2 separate regions of the Homo sapiens genome follow, and region 2 is linked to region 1. Evidence: promoter capture Hi-C in 16 types of primary human blood cells and fetal thymus (Javierre and others, 2016). All regions are on one chromosome and are shown on one strand. Each heading gives the region's core, a stretch centred on a gene start or on the middle of the fragment in contact. The rest is flanking DNA. Distances are from core to core; before and after follow the strand shown.

Evidence for each region. Contacts are between HindIII fragments. The CHiCAGO score rates a contact against its expected background, and 5 or more counts as called.
Region 2: a fragment that was not itself captured here is called in contact with the fragment with the promoter of UBE2E1 in region 1 in 1 of 17 cell types (monocytes); the score reaches 6.0 in monocytes.

Annotation. Positions count from the first base shown.
Region 1 is chr3:23,801,551-23,808,745 of GRCh38, reverse strand. It overlaps UBE2E1 (ubiquitin conjugating enzyme E2 E1), which reads right to left and starts at 2,791. Exons shown (of 6, transcript NM_003341.5): 1 at 2,658-2,791; 2 at 1,325-1,509. The coding sequence starts at 1,476. It overlaps UBE2E1-AS1 (UBE2E1 antisense RNA 1), which reads left to right and starts at 1,841. Exons shown (of 2, transcript NR_046652.1): 1 at 1,841-1,927; 2 at 4,032-4,722. RefSeq lists an enhancer at 1,276-1,365 and silencers at 1,666-1,845, 2,046-2,345, 2,536-2,665, 2,746-2,855. The HindIII fragment of the contact is 12,732 bases long and covers 1-7,195 here.
Region 2 is chr3:23,658,372-23,664,629 of GRCh38, reverse strand. No RefSeq gene overlaps it. Among named protein-coding and RNA genes, the nearest start is that of UBE2E1, 140 kb to the left of the region's middle. The HindIII fragment of the contact is 1,511 bases long and covers 1,174-2,684 here.

The sequences.
Region 1 (7,195 bases), core at 1,542-4,041:
AATCAGTGAGGGTCAGTCAGGCCTCCTGAGAAGCTGTACAATCAAACCAAACCTATAAAAATGAGAACAATCTTGCAGAGGCACCTTGCCACTTAAGACCTCCACACTATTTTTTAAAAGTCACTCCTTCATCAGCCCATGGTTAGGTCACCAAAACACTGCCAAGTTTTCAAATTACAAGTCAGGGAGAATGACAGAACAAACTCTCAAACCCTGACTTCCAGGCTCACTACTCAGTGGAGAGATCTAAAGTCTCATGTTCTACTTTATTTTAAAAATTTTTAAGAAGGGTATCCCTATCCCATCATTTGGAGTTCTTACTATCTTCCTGGTTTGCCACCTTTTTAACAACTGCCTAACTCTGAGAGCAGAAGGATTTATGAAAGGGTGTCTCAGAGCTCCTAGGAATCCACTAAAGATGATTTTGAGGGTCATGGCGATCAGAGGATATTACTGAAGGATGGCAGGGGTAAAAAGTAGCTACCTCCAGAGGCTTAAGAGGAAAAGAATAAAGAAAAAGGGTGACCGCTTAGGATGGCAGGGATAAAAAGTAGCTACCTTCAGGGCCTTAAGAGGAAAAGAATAAAGTAAAAGGGAGACCACTTAAATTGAAAAAATAAGGCAAAGTAACATTTTCACAGCATGAGGACAGCAAATAGCATGAAAAAAAGACAAGTCTCCCTGAAATTGGTAAACTGAAGTTTTTAAAGAGAACCACAAAAATAACCTAGAATAACCATTTTATAGTCACTTACTGATTCATTCATTTGCCTCAACTCTCAGAAAAATCTCTTTAAATTCCACCAGAAAACATCTGTCTTCACCTACTAAATTTTGTACCTGCTAATATGAGTTTCTTATTCCTTATGCAATTTGTGAAGAAAGCTCTATTTAGAAAAGATCATCCATGCAACAGGTGAGGAGAAGGTAAAATGGTCACAGAATTCATTTTGATGCAGTTCTCTGGGCTGGTATTAGTAATTAAGAAATGGGATCATGGCCTTGGGGAAGGTCACAGATTAACCATTAGTAGGACAAGAAATCTGAAATCAGATTTGGGGGTCACTAATAAAAGTAACGAGGAATCTTACAAACTTCAGCAAGAAATGCGAGAGGCAAGCCGCAACAGCTGCATGTGAGCAATGATTTAAAAACAGAAGCAGCAATAGAGAAAATAATTAGGGCTTCCAAGGCCCTTCTTTCATTTTTAAGAACACATAAACCATGAGGAGCGTTTAAGCTATCCTCATTGGGAGGCAGACCAAATGCAGCAAGAGGCAGTTCGGAAATAGGAAGCCTGTGGAAAAAAAAAAGAGCACAGTACCTCTTGGCGCTGGTGGAGAGGAGTTTGGAGTTTTTGCTCATGCTGACTTTACTCTCCTTCTTCTTGGGGGTGTTTGTTTCTTTCTCGGTTTGCTGGTTGGAAGACGAAGATGAGGAGGAGCTGGTGCTGGCCCTCGAATCGTCATCCGACATAGCGAACCCCCCACCCCACCCCGCAAACAGCCCCTGCAGGGGGAGAGAAACAAAACAGAAACACACAAACCATGCAGCCAGTGTAAATAAGGAACTCGGGTGCTGTCAGGAGGGCATTGACCAGGGGCGCACGCGGCCGCCCACCGCCCTCCACTCGCTTTTCAAAGTCTGCAGGCCCATTAAGGCTTTTGCAAATCGGACGCGGCTTGTTTATTTTTGGCCCCAAGTGGGGAACGCTGTGGGAAAACGGTCTGGAGCTAGGAGAGAGGCCCCTCCCTCGCCCCCCGGGGCTCTCCGCTGGGCAGGGAGGGAGTAGCCCGGGAGGCGAAGGAGGGCAGGGCGGGGGGCGCGGGGCGCCACGGCGGGGCAGGGAGGGAAGGTCCCGGCGGCCGGCCGGCCTCGGGGCTGTTTTTGTCCGCTTTCCGGGGGTCGTGAGGGGCCGGTGGCCCGGGTGAGACTGTGGGGCCACGAGCGGAGTTTGGCGAGGTCGGGAAGAGAGGAGGGGCGGGAAGGAGTAAGAGAGGAAGCCGAAACAGGGGGACGGAGGCGGGGAGCGGGTGCCCGGGTGGGGGAAGGGAGAGGCCGGCGGGGGGCAGGGGCGACGAGGCCCGAGGCCCCCCCGCGCCGCGCCCCGACGCCCCTCCCGGCCTGCCTGCCTCTGGCCGCCCTGCTCACAGCTATGCGGCCGGGCGGGGGTCCGGAGCACACGCCCGATCGCCACTCCTGTAGGGGGATAGGGGCTGCGGCGGGGAATGGGGGGGTCGGCCTCCGCAGCGAAGACATAACAATGAGCCCTTCCGCCCCGGAGGGGTTAATCCCCGCGAACCCCCGCCCCTGGGGAAAACGGGGCTCCCCCAACTCCCTCCCACCCCCGCTCCCGGGCCCCTCGGTGGCCAGTGGGGGGCTCTTGGGGCAGCGCTGACAGTTCGAGCCACAATGACCCCCGTCCTCAATGCGGGCGGCCCCCGCACCCCACGCGGCCCGGGGTCCCTGCCCATCCCCCGCGGGCGGGCCCCGGACCCCTGGGGCTCCCCAGCCCCTCTCCGCTCCCCCCCCGCGCCGGCCCCGTGCCCTGCGGCCCGGCGGCCCCGGCGGCGCGAGTCGGGGGAGGCGGCGAGGGGTGTCCCCGAGGCCCGGCGGCGCGGCCGGGGGGCGGCGGGCCGCTGGGGGGATCCCCGTACCTCTCTTTGTGTCTGGCTCCTCCGTGCCGCCGCGGCGGCTGCTGCTGCGGCTGCGGCTGGGCCTGGCCACTCGTGTCTCTCTCTCGCTGGGAGAGAAGCGGAAGTGCAGCAACAGCAACTATTAAACAGGCAATGGCTTCCCCCAGCCACACACGCTCGCACACACACCACTCCTCCGCCGCCGCCTCCTCCTCCTCCTCCTCCTCGCCCTCACCCCTCCCCCACCCGGCCCGGTCCCACCCACCCGCGCTCCCCTCCCCCTGCAACACCTCCTGGGGGTGCGCGAGGAAGACCCAGGAGACCCCAGGAAACCCTGTCCCCCACAGACACCCCCACCCCAGCGCCTCCTCCGGACGCCCGGGAAGGGGGCGAGGGTTGTGAATTTTCTCTTAAGTGGTTTGGGAACCTGGATTCTGGGCGGGAGAGGGGAAGCCGATGGAGATGGGGGGCGCTGGGAGTGATTGGAACTAGATGGAATAGGGGGGTCACGAGAGAAAGTTCTTTCCAATGAGGGCTTTTGGAAAGGAGAGGAGTAGGGAGGTGGCAAATTGGTGAAAACGTTGGTAATCTGGTGGTGGCAAAGACTTTAGAGAATGCAGCGGGTACTCCACCTAAAAAGCGATTAAAGAGAAAAAAAAAATCACACAACAAGGGTTTTCTTTGGACTGACACTTGCTTCTCCTTCTAGCAATTTACCTGCTAGGAGCAGAGGTCAGTTTAGGTATGCCTGTGAGAAAATCCCAAACTAGGAATTTTCTGCTCAGGTCACGCGAGGCACGTGCAGTTTTACAATATTAGATTCTTCCACTCACTTTTTATAGAAAGTGATGTGGTTTTTTATAAGAGTGATACAAAGGTTTTGGTGACAGGTAAAACCAACGTGTAACGGGCTTGCGAATGTGAGACATCACTGGGAATAAGCTATATACTACTGAATTAGACTGGATTTAGAATTTTTTGTGTCATTTTACATTAGATGTAAGGTTTGGTTTTTGGAAATTGGATGCAAAGTTCTGGGGATCGCAGAATCCCCAGATCGCTAAATTGACCAAATTATTTTTAAAATATTAAGCCATTTTTCTCTTTCTTTAGCTACCTATAAATGCTATGCAAATAATATTTTTGAAATGATCAGCAATTCTTCTGAATTGTTCCTTATTTAGCATTTTTGCCAATTTTTTTTTAATATTAAGCCATCAAATTACGATTCAGTTTCTCACCTTTTGTCATTTCAGTTGAAGGGAACTAAAGAGATGTGTGCCATTCAAATACAACAGTGCCACACATACAAGGTCTTGTACATTAAGGAGACAGCCTCAGATTTCCATAGGTCACTCTAAATTATCTCATTCAAACTGCCATCATTTTCCACAGCAACAGTGGCTTCAGTTACCACAGGACAACACAAGATATACAGCCCATGGCATATCCAGTAACCAGGAAAACAAGCATTCTCACGACCCAGCCGAACTCCTTCTAACCATCAACCTGAAATTCCAGCTTTATCAAGACTCATAAAGTAATTGTGCATGCTTCTTGCTCAATCCCTACCAGGAAACCTGTATCTACCAGGAGTTGTCATAGAATAAGAAGTTCAAAAGCTGGAAGAAATCTTCAGGGTCATAATTTCAGCCTCCTGCTTCCAGACAGAACTATTTCTCCACCACTGAAATGCATATAGATTTTGAAAAAATTTCCAGACATAACCTTTCTTAAGTGTTTGGTTTCAGGAGTCCTGGTAGAGTATATAAAAATGATGACATTCTTTGCTATATATTTGAAAAAATTTTTTAAACTTCTGAAAAACTGATTGTATTCTTTTTGTTCTGATGAAAAGATGTAAATTCAGAAGAAAACAATAAGAAGATGAAATAAACTCAGGATGAGGAAAATAATCTAAAAATAGTTATTAAAATTGAAATTTCCTCCTATGAAAATTTGGATTTCTGATACTTAAAAATATATGTCTACATTATGAATACAACCAGTAAAAAAATCATGTGTTATAAAGACAAGAACTAGCAGAGATCACAGGAAAATAAAAGGTTTGATTTGCTGAAGTGATCAGGACAGTAGGTGAATTTTTTCTTTAATATTGGTTTGCATAAATTGCCTACCAGCTATAATAAGAATTCTTTTGTAACAGAACATGATATTTTGTGTTGTGTTACTGATGCTTGGGTTGGACTGATTCCTTGTGAAAGAAATCATGAAATCTAACAGCTCCTCCTATAAGGAAAAGTGATTTCCCAACCACCTGTCTGGAAGGTTTCTTGCCCTCTTTTGTGTACTGTTCCCCCTAATCTCTAATTCCAGCTAGCTTAAGTTAGTGCTTTATCGTTTTGGAATGACCTGATGACAGGGAATAAAAACTTCAAAATGTTTAGAAAAGAATCCAGTCCTCTCAAAAGACTAATCTTTATGTCGAATTATTTTTAAGACCTGTATGCAGCTGTCTTAGGGGAAAAAAAATTCATACACAACTTTCTATCTCTCCTTCTTATTAACTACAAGGCCTAAAAAGCTAAATTGACCTCCCTGAGCCTCAGTTCCCTCATCCATAAAGGGCAGAAATACCTGTGCTCTACTGACTGGCAAGGTCAAATATGTATCTGTAAGTAAGGTGATTTATTAGCTGTTACGCAAAGTAAATTATTAATAATTCCACTCTAGTGGAATTTTCTTAGTTCATGGGTTTGGGGTTATTTGTTGCTTTTATGTTTTTGTTTTTCGTCACCAGGGCAGAAAAGAGGACATGGGGTTTTTATAACTTAGAATTGATGAAAATATAAGAAACCTTCCAGGAGAAACATATACTCAAGGAATCATAGTATTTTATGCCTAGAAGGGGCCTAAGATATCTTCTAGTTCACACTCTTCATGTTACAGATAAAGAAATCAAAGCAAAGAAAGTTATGTTGGCCGGTATGTTGGCCGGGCGTGGTGGCTCATGCCTGTAATCCCAGCACTTTGAGAGGCCAAAGCAGGTGGAACACGAGGTCAGGAGATTGAGACCATCCTGGCCAAGATGGTGAAACCCCGTCTCTACTAAAAATACAAAAATTATCTAGGCTTGGTGACATGTGCCTGGAATCCCAGCTACTCGGGAGGCTGAGGCAAGAGAATCTCTTGAACCAGCGAGTCTTGATTGGAGGTTGCAGTGAGCCGAGATCGCGCCACTGCACTTCAGCCTGGGGACAGAGCAAGACTCTGTCTCAAAAAAAAAAAAAAAAAAAAAAAAAAAAAAGCCAGTATGTCTTATCCAAGGTCATGCAGTAAGTTGGTGGCAAAATTGTTGTTATGACCCATGCTATCCACAGATGATCTTGTCAGTTCTGGCAATATTGGAGTGGGAGAAGAGCCTCAATTACATTGCAGAAAAATGTATTAAATATAAAAGGGCCGGGTGCAGTGGCTCACGCCTGTAATTCCAGCACTTTGGGAGGCCAAGGCAGGCAGACTCCTTGAGCCCAGGAGTTCAAGACCAGCCTGGGCAACATGGCAAGACTGTCTCTACAAAAAATGCAAAAATTAGCCAGGCCTGGTGGCACATGCCTGTGGTCCCAGATACTTGGGAGGTTGAGGTGGGAGAATCACCTGAGCCCCAGAGGTTGAGGCTGCAGTGAGCTGTGATTGTGCCACTGTACTCCAACCTGGGTGGTGGGAGTGAGACCCTGTCTCAAAATAAGTAAATAAATAAAATAAATATAGTAGTCTCTGATAATATTTTCGAGAATATATTAACAATCAAGACAGCTGGGAAAGTGGGAACATGGAAGCAAGCTAAGGGAATCACTGAATTTGTAACATGGTTGCTTGAACTAATGACTGCTATTGAAGTTCCCCAACCCCACCCTCATCCTGAGAATAGTCCTCATTATTTATTTATTTTGCCTATATGGATATATTTTAAATAGATAATACATTTTCATGCTATATTATTCTAAAGAAACCAGAGAGTATGCCACGAAAATATCTTTCTGCCCCTTCCCCCACCCCTAATTTCCTTTGGAGAAAGCAGTTTTCGGTTGTAGTCTATGCATGTGTAAAGCAAATGCATACATATGCACTGAATGCTTTGATAGTAATGCTCAATTTACATTTTAGAAAACCAGCCAGTCACAGAAGCCCAAGTAGTATTACACTGTGACATCCTGTGGACTTTGAGAAAGTGGGCTCCAGTTTTTATTAATACCTATTCCTGGTTTTCAGAATGACCCAACTCTCCTTCAAGTCATCTTTAGTGTATCAAGTACATTTAAGTAGAAACACTTGAAGATCAAGGTGCTAGTTGATCCCTAGGAGGTGAAATAATACAGTTGAAAGAGGGAGACTTGGTTTAACTTTTTGACTTGTTGCTTACACTGAAATTCAAGTATTTCATAAAGATTCTCTTTGGCCAATTTCATGTCCAAAGAATTGTCAAGCAAGTTAACGTTGGTTAATATAGTTTTTTAACTTACCTTATTGCTGAATAGAAAGGATTTCCTTTGCTGGGCGTGGTGGCTCACACTGGTAATCCCAGCACTTTGGGAGGC
Region 2 (6,258 bases), core at 680-3,179, 140 kb after region 1:
AGTGGAGGGTCATAAAAGCTGACTATCATGCCCCAAACCATACAGCTAGTAAGAGGAAGAGCTTGCATTAGAATTTAGATTTACTGAATTTAAAATCCCGAAGTCAGATCCATCCTCAGGAGAGGAAATCCACTGGGGAAAAAGGTCAGAACCAGCCATAAGGGAGCTCTTACAGAGTAGGAAGATGTTGGGTTTGGAGAGGAGATCTCAGAAGAGATCCATGAGTGCCATCTTCCAATACCTGAAGGCTCACCGGTGGTTAGACTGGCTCTGTGTCATTCCAAGGGGTAGCAGTAGAGTCAATAGGTAGAAGTTGTAAGGAGAAATATTTCCACGGAGACTGAGGACACATTTTGTCAACAGTCAGAGCTGCCCAAATTCGGATACTTTGGAAGATAGTGAGGACCAGGTGCTGCAGAAGACCAAGCAAAGGCTTTTGATACTTGGCCTGTTCCCCAAAGGCTGCAGCACTGTTCTGTGGAGTGGCTACATCAATTCGCCTGGGTGTTATTCAAAATAAGCAGGTCCATCCCAGGCCTACTATATCAGAATCTCACGGAAGTGAGGCCCAATGACTTTTATTTTGAACAAGTGTTTGCAGTTATTGTGATGTTGTGATGTGCAGCCAGGATTCAGAGCCACTGCTGCACAGAGGACGACATTTAAGCATCCGTTGGATGGTTGGACTATATGACTTTTCAAATCTCTTCCAGTGTTGAAATTCTATTATACCATGTTCGCTAAAGCTTGCCAACCAAATTATGGTGAGTGAACTTGGCAAGATTAATCATTTCCTTATTTGGCCTGTTTACTACTTAATGGGCAGCAGTGGGGGTAGAGTTCTTTGGCTAAAAAAGCAAAACTGCTAGTTGCCCACATTAGTTGAGATGCATTAGATTTTAACTCTTTTTTTTTTTTTTTCCTTTGGTAAGACAGGAATTCAGGGGAAGGGGCAAGGTAAAACAAGAAATATTTTCTCATATTTTCTTGCTAATAGAAATGTCAAATTTTTGCACTCATTGCCAGGAACCATGGAGTTCCAAGCTCTTTTATAAAAGGCAGTTAGGAACTTTGAGTTGGTCTACTATAGATAAGGATAGCAAAGGGCTGCAAAACTTGGCCTGTGGGATGAGACCATGTTAACAGTTTCCAAGGAAGCAGCTTTTACAAGCTTTATTCATAACACACCATTGACGAAAAGAAACAAGTGCCAAGCCCCATCAAGTTGAGGTATTGTTGAGAACACAGCTGGGTCACAGACGGAGTTGGAAAATGCAACCAGAGGAACACCAAGAGCAGCAAACTGAGAATGAGTTTTTGCTTTTCAGTCTCATCACTGAAAAGACACCCACGGCCCTCAGTCCAAATAGAAAGGAATCCTTGAGGACTGAAGCTGGGGTCACAGAACATCTGAATCACCAGATCCAGGTGCTGCACGCTCTTGGTCAGAGTGAGGACTGTACAAAAAGAAAAACAGGATCCCCTCTCCGAAAAGCAAATGAAGTGGTCATTTCTTTGCCCAGAACAATGCAGAAAAGTTCATCATTTTGCTGCCTTTTTTATGGAAAGATAGCCTGAAGGACAGGTACTGAACTAAAAAAAATTAGCTAAGGAGGCCAACAAGAATCCAGGTAAAAAGAAAATGTGGTAATAAATGCCTTAACTCCATTAAGTTTGAGCCAATAGCTGCTCAGTCAGGAAAAGCCATAAATGTAGAGGAGGCTGTTATTGGTTTCAGGTTCTCTATTTCTCCCTGAAGGGCATTATTTTGTTCTTTGCTTCACTCAGCTATTAAACATGGTCTTTTGAGAACAATATCTGGATTTAAGACACGTGGAATCTATTTTTTTTTCCCCTAAAACTTCCATCAAGTCATTTGTCCCCACTCTTTCTAGTTGGTCATATTTCTGGCACGGCTATAACAACCGTTTTATCATTTCTTATGGGATAATCCGATTCCAGTTCTCATGGCTCCTTCCGGTTCTACATTCGGGTTGTCTCTTTCTCTATAAGCGAGTGGGCTGCCATCATTTCAGATCTGTGCCTGTGGTTTGTGTGCCTCGACAAGCCATTGTCATGTGGACACAGCTCAGAAAAGTGTCTACATCTGGAAAGAATGGGGAACAGCTCATCTATGTACTCGGTAATAAACGCTCCCGAATATTCCCATACTAGGATTTCTACTGGGAATTCAAAGAAAGTCAGTGTGGTCTGACTTTTGTTTTTGTTTAAGGAAGTGGTTTTCAAAGTGAGGTCTCTGGTGGCTGTGAGCTAATTAAAAAATGCAACTCCTTCACCGACTTCCATTTTTATGTACCACTCAGGTCTTCTTACTAGGAATTTATAAACAAAATTAGCACCATACTTGAGGATGCACAGAACTCTATTTTGTCCTCTCCTAAGAGGTCCGGCTGTGAAAACACTTGGCATCACGACTTTGACTTACTTTTTTTCCTAATAAACAGATTTCATGACCTAGTATGCATCGTGGTTAACCACAGCTACAGCTAAATAAAACATCTACATGTAAACAACCTCTTCTTGTTACTATCTAGTTGCTCTTCCATGGAAGGTTGAAATGGGTGGACCATTACAGTCTTTTGTCTCAACTGAATGGTGTGGAACCATAAAAGTTTGTGAGGACTAGTCTAAAACAATGGGATGTACCAGAAATGGAACAAGCTTTTGGAGTCAGACCAACCTAGGGTCAAGCCTCCATGCACGGATTTCAGTCGGCAGGTTGAAATCCAGCCTACACTCTGCCAGTCAAGCCTCTGTAGAGCTTGGTTTCATTCAACATTTACTTCCCTAGGAGTAAGGGGGAAGGAGTAGGAGCTGACTTTGTAATCTAATGTACATGAAGGTGTATAGACCAGCTGCGGCCCTGAAAATACACCTTCATAGCAGTGTGACTTTGGGAAAATGCTTATTGTCTCTGTAGCCCAGTCTCCTTGTCTGAAATTGTAGGCTAATCATTTCTCCTTTGCAGGACTGTTGTTGAGGTAATTAGATGATGTATGTAAACTGCCTGGTGCACTGTAACAGATGTCAGCAAACCTGAGCTCTGCTGAGGGCCACCATCTACTCCCAGCCCTAAACTCAAATGAGTTGGGGTGAAGTGACTTCTCCTAGACGAGAAGCATCAGTATCCCAGATGAGATGTTCTGTCCAGCCAAACATTCTTTAGTTTTTGTGGCAGAGATGTCAAAGTCTTTGGGGGATAGACAGACTTAAGTGTCATTCCCAACCCTCCTACCCACTCACTATATGACTTTGAGCAAGTTATTCATTCCTCTGCGTCTCCTGTTTTCTCATCTGTAAAATGGGAACAAATAAAACTGATTTCAAAGCACAGAAGATGAAATGATTAACACAACAAGCCAAGATTACGCTTGGCACAGTTTTAGGTGCTCAACAAATTTGAGTTCTTTTCTCCCATACCCCCAACCCTTCCTTATCTGGTTCTTGGTTTCATTTAACATTTACTAAACCCCATCCAAAGAGAAGTGCAGTCTTCACCTTCCTCAGCGCTCTTTCATGAAACCAAAAAATTACTTATAGCCTTCCATGCATATTTTGATTAAATCAAATAACCACTTCATAGACTTACTATATCCTGGCAGCTGTGTAGATAAACCGGGTAGAAAGATAGAAAAAAGATACAATAAATAGGACTGAATAAAGATCACAGAAACCATCCTAGTTATATTTGGGACTTGGGATGTGATAGCAATGGCCCTACAAATCAGGATATTAGGACAGCTGGCTATTGAAATGGAAAAAATACAATAAAATTAGGTCTCCACCTTGCCCACCATATAGAAATAAATTCCTCATGGACTGAAGACCTATATAAAACTTTACAATATTTAATCTTAGGGACAGGCAAGGATTTCTTAGACAGGATGCAAAAGAAAGCTGAACTCAAAAAGTGGATACATCTGAGTTCAAAATGAAAACCACCTGGAAATATATGTAGCAGACATCATAAAAGTGTTAAAAGACTGATGACAGGCTAGGAGATGTTTGCAACAAATAAAACAGATGAAAGATTATATTCAAAATATACAAAGAACTATAAATTATTTTTTTAACTCCATTAGAAAAATAAAAAAGGACAGGGACAAAGAGGGCACATCGGAGTAAGTACGGCCAACATCCCCCATAGAGCGTGTGCTCAACCTCCCTAGTCATCAGGAAAATGAAGGTTAAAACCCCAAAGAGCTCCCATCGGATTATCAGAAATCAAAAAGTCTGACAAAATTGACTGCCTGAGAGGATGCAGGGACACAGAAGCTCTTATACAGGAGCTGCTAGTGGGAGGGTCAACTGGTTGCCATCACTTTGCAGAGCAATTTGGCTACACATACAAAAGTGGAATCCACGTGCACTCTACAAAATCGCAGTGTCATTTGAAATGTCAGCAAATTGGAAACAACCTGAACTGCCATCAAGATGGGAATAAATACGCTGAGGAATGTTCATAGGGTGAAACATGGGAGTGAATGCTGTCTCTATGCACACACATGGCCCAAGCTCAGTGCTGAGTGAAAACAGCAACTTACAGATGGGTATACATTCCTGTAACTGTAAAGTAATAACCCAGCCACACTGCAGTTTATGACACATGTGCACTTAGTAGAAGCACAGAACAAGAACGGGAGGGACACACTAGCTTAGTGATCATGCATGTCTTAGGGAGAGAAGAGAATGAGATTAAGTCAGGGACAAAAGAGCCTTTCATTGTATCTGTAATATTCTCTTGCTTTCTAATTTTTTTTTAATAACAAAATGTCAATCTTTGTTCATTCTGGGTGGTGGGCATGCTGCGTTTTTAGTGTGTTGTGTTTAGAATTTTTTTTCAAACCAATAGAAAGTATTAAACTCTGGAACTTTGAAAAGGAACAATGAAGATCAAGTTTGAGGCTTGCCTGAGGAATTCAATTTAGAATGTTTATAGGATTTTAAAATTATTTTAAAGATTGCTTAGGAGAAAAAGAAAGGAAAGGGAAGAAGAAAGATAAAACAAAGGGAGGAGAAAATCTGAAGTGGTACGAGGTGGACATTTGCTCTAGGACGGCTGCTGAACACGAGGAGTGACACCACAGCTGGGGACTTGACCCCAAGGGGCACCTCTGCTTCAATGCCTAACAGGGGTGGCATCATCCACAACCTCTTGTGTTCAATGAACGTTTATTTATATCAAGTAGCCGAGAGCTTCACTTCCTCTAGTCTGTCAACAGCTAACAGTGTCGTTTCGTTTCTCTTCCTTCCTTCTTTTCCATTTAGTAATTGCATATAGGCCTAAACTTGTTTTTCTTACATCTAGAAGTTTGTGATTACGGTTTTTATAATAGCTTATATAAAATTATTCTGTTATTTCTTTTACCTTAGAGTTTTTTTTTTTTTCTTTAATGTCATCAACTTATACTTAAAACCTTTTTATGCTGACTTACAGCCAGGCTTGGTGAATTCAATAATGCCCCCCAATAAAACCCCTCTCACCAACACCCGTGTTCCTTGAGTGCCTGCTGGGCACCAGCACTGGGGGTTATAAATGTAAAACATATGGGCAGGCCAACTCATGCGTGTTTATTGTTTTCTCTCTATTTATATGAAGCTCCTCTCCTTTAAAGCACCCAGGGATCTAATTACATGGTCATAGCCAAAGACTTAAGTATGTAATAGATCCAGTAATTTGTTATTAAGTACATGGATATGCTAACCATTTGCATAGATTAGAAGCGCCATGGAGGATGAAGTTAAAGCCAGTGAAAATGAACCCAGCAAGGTGCAGGCATCTTCAGAAACCACACTTGAGTAATCACAGCCTTAATAAAGTATTTTATGCTTCAATACATTTGTAATTGACCAATGATTTGTTTCTATGGGGCATAATACCCAATAATAAAACCCAAAGACTAGGACCTCTATCACATAATTAAATATCTTTAGTTCTATTACAGATAGTTCAGAGTGGGGTTTGTTGTGTGTGTTGGGGGGTGATGCTTCGTTTTGGTTTCTCATAATTTTTTCAGATTATTTCATGCGAGCAATTGAACAGTCCTTTTTAAAATATATTTTCTCACTGACAAAATAAGTGCTATGGTTGTATACACCGTCTCCTAGTCTCAATACTTAGCGGAGTTCCATACATCTAGTATGCAAAAAATTACATTTTATTTATTGTTTAAGAAGATAAAACTTTAAAGGTTGAGTTTTAATTTTACTTAATAGATATATTTCATCTTCCATCTT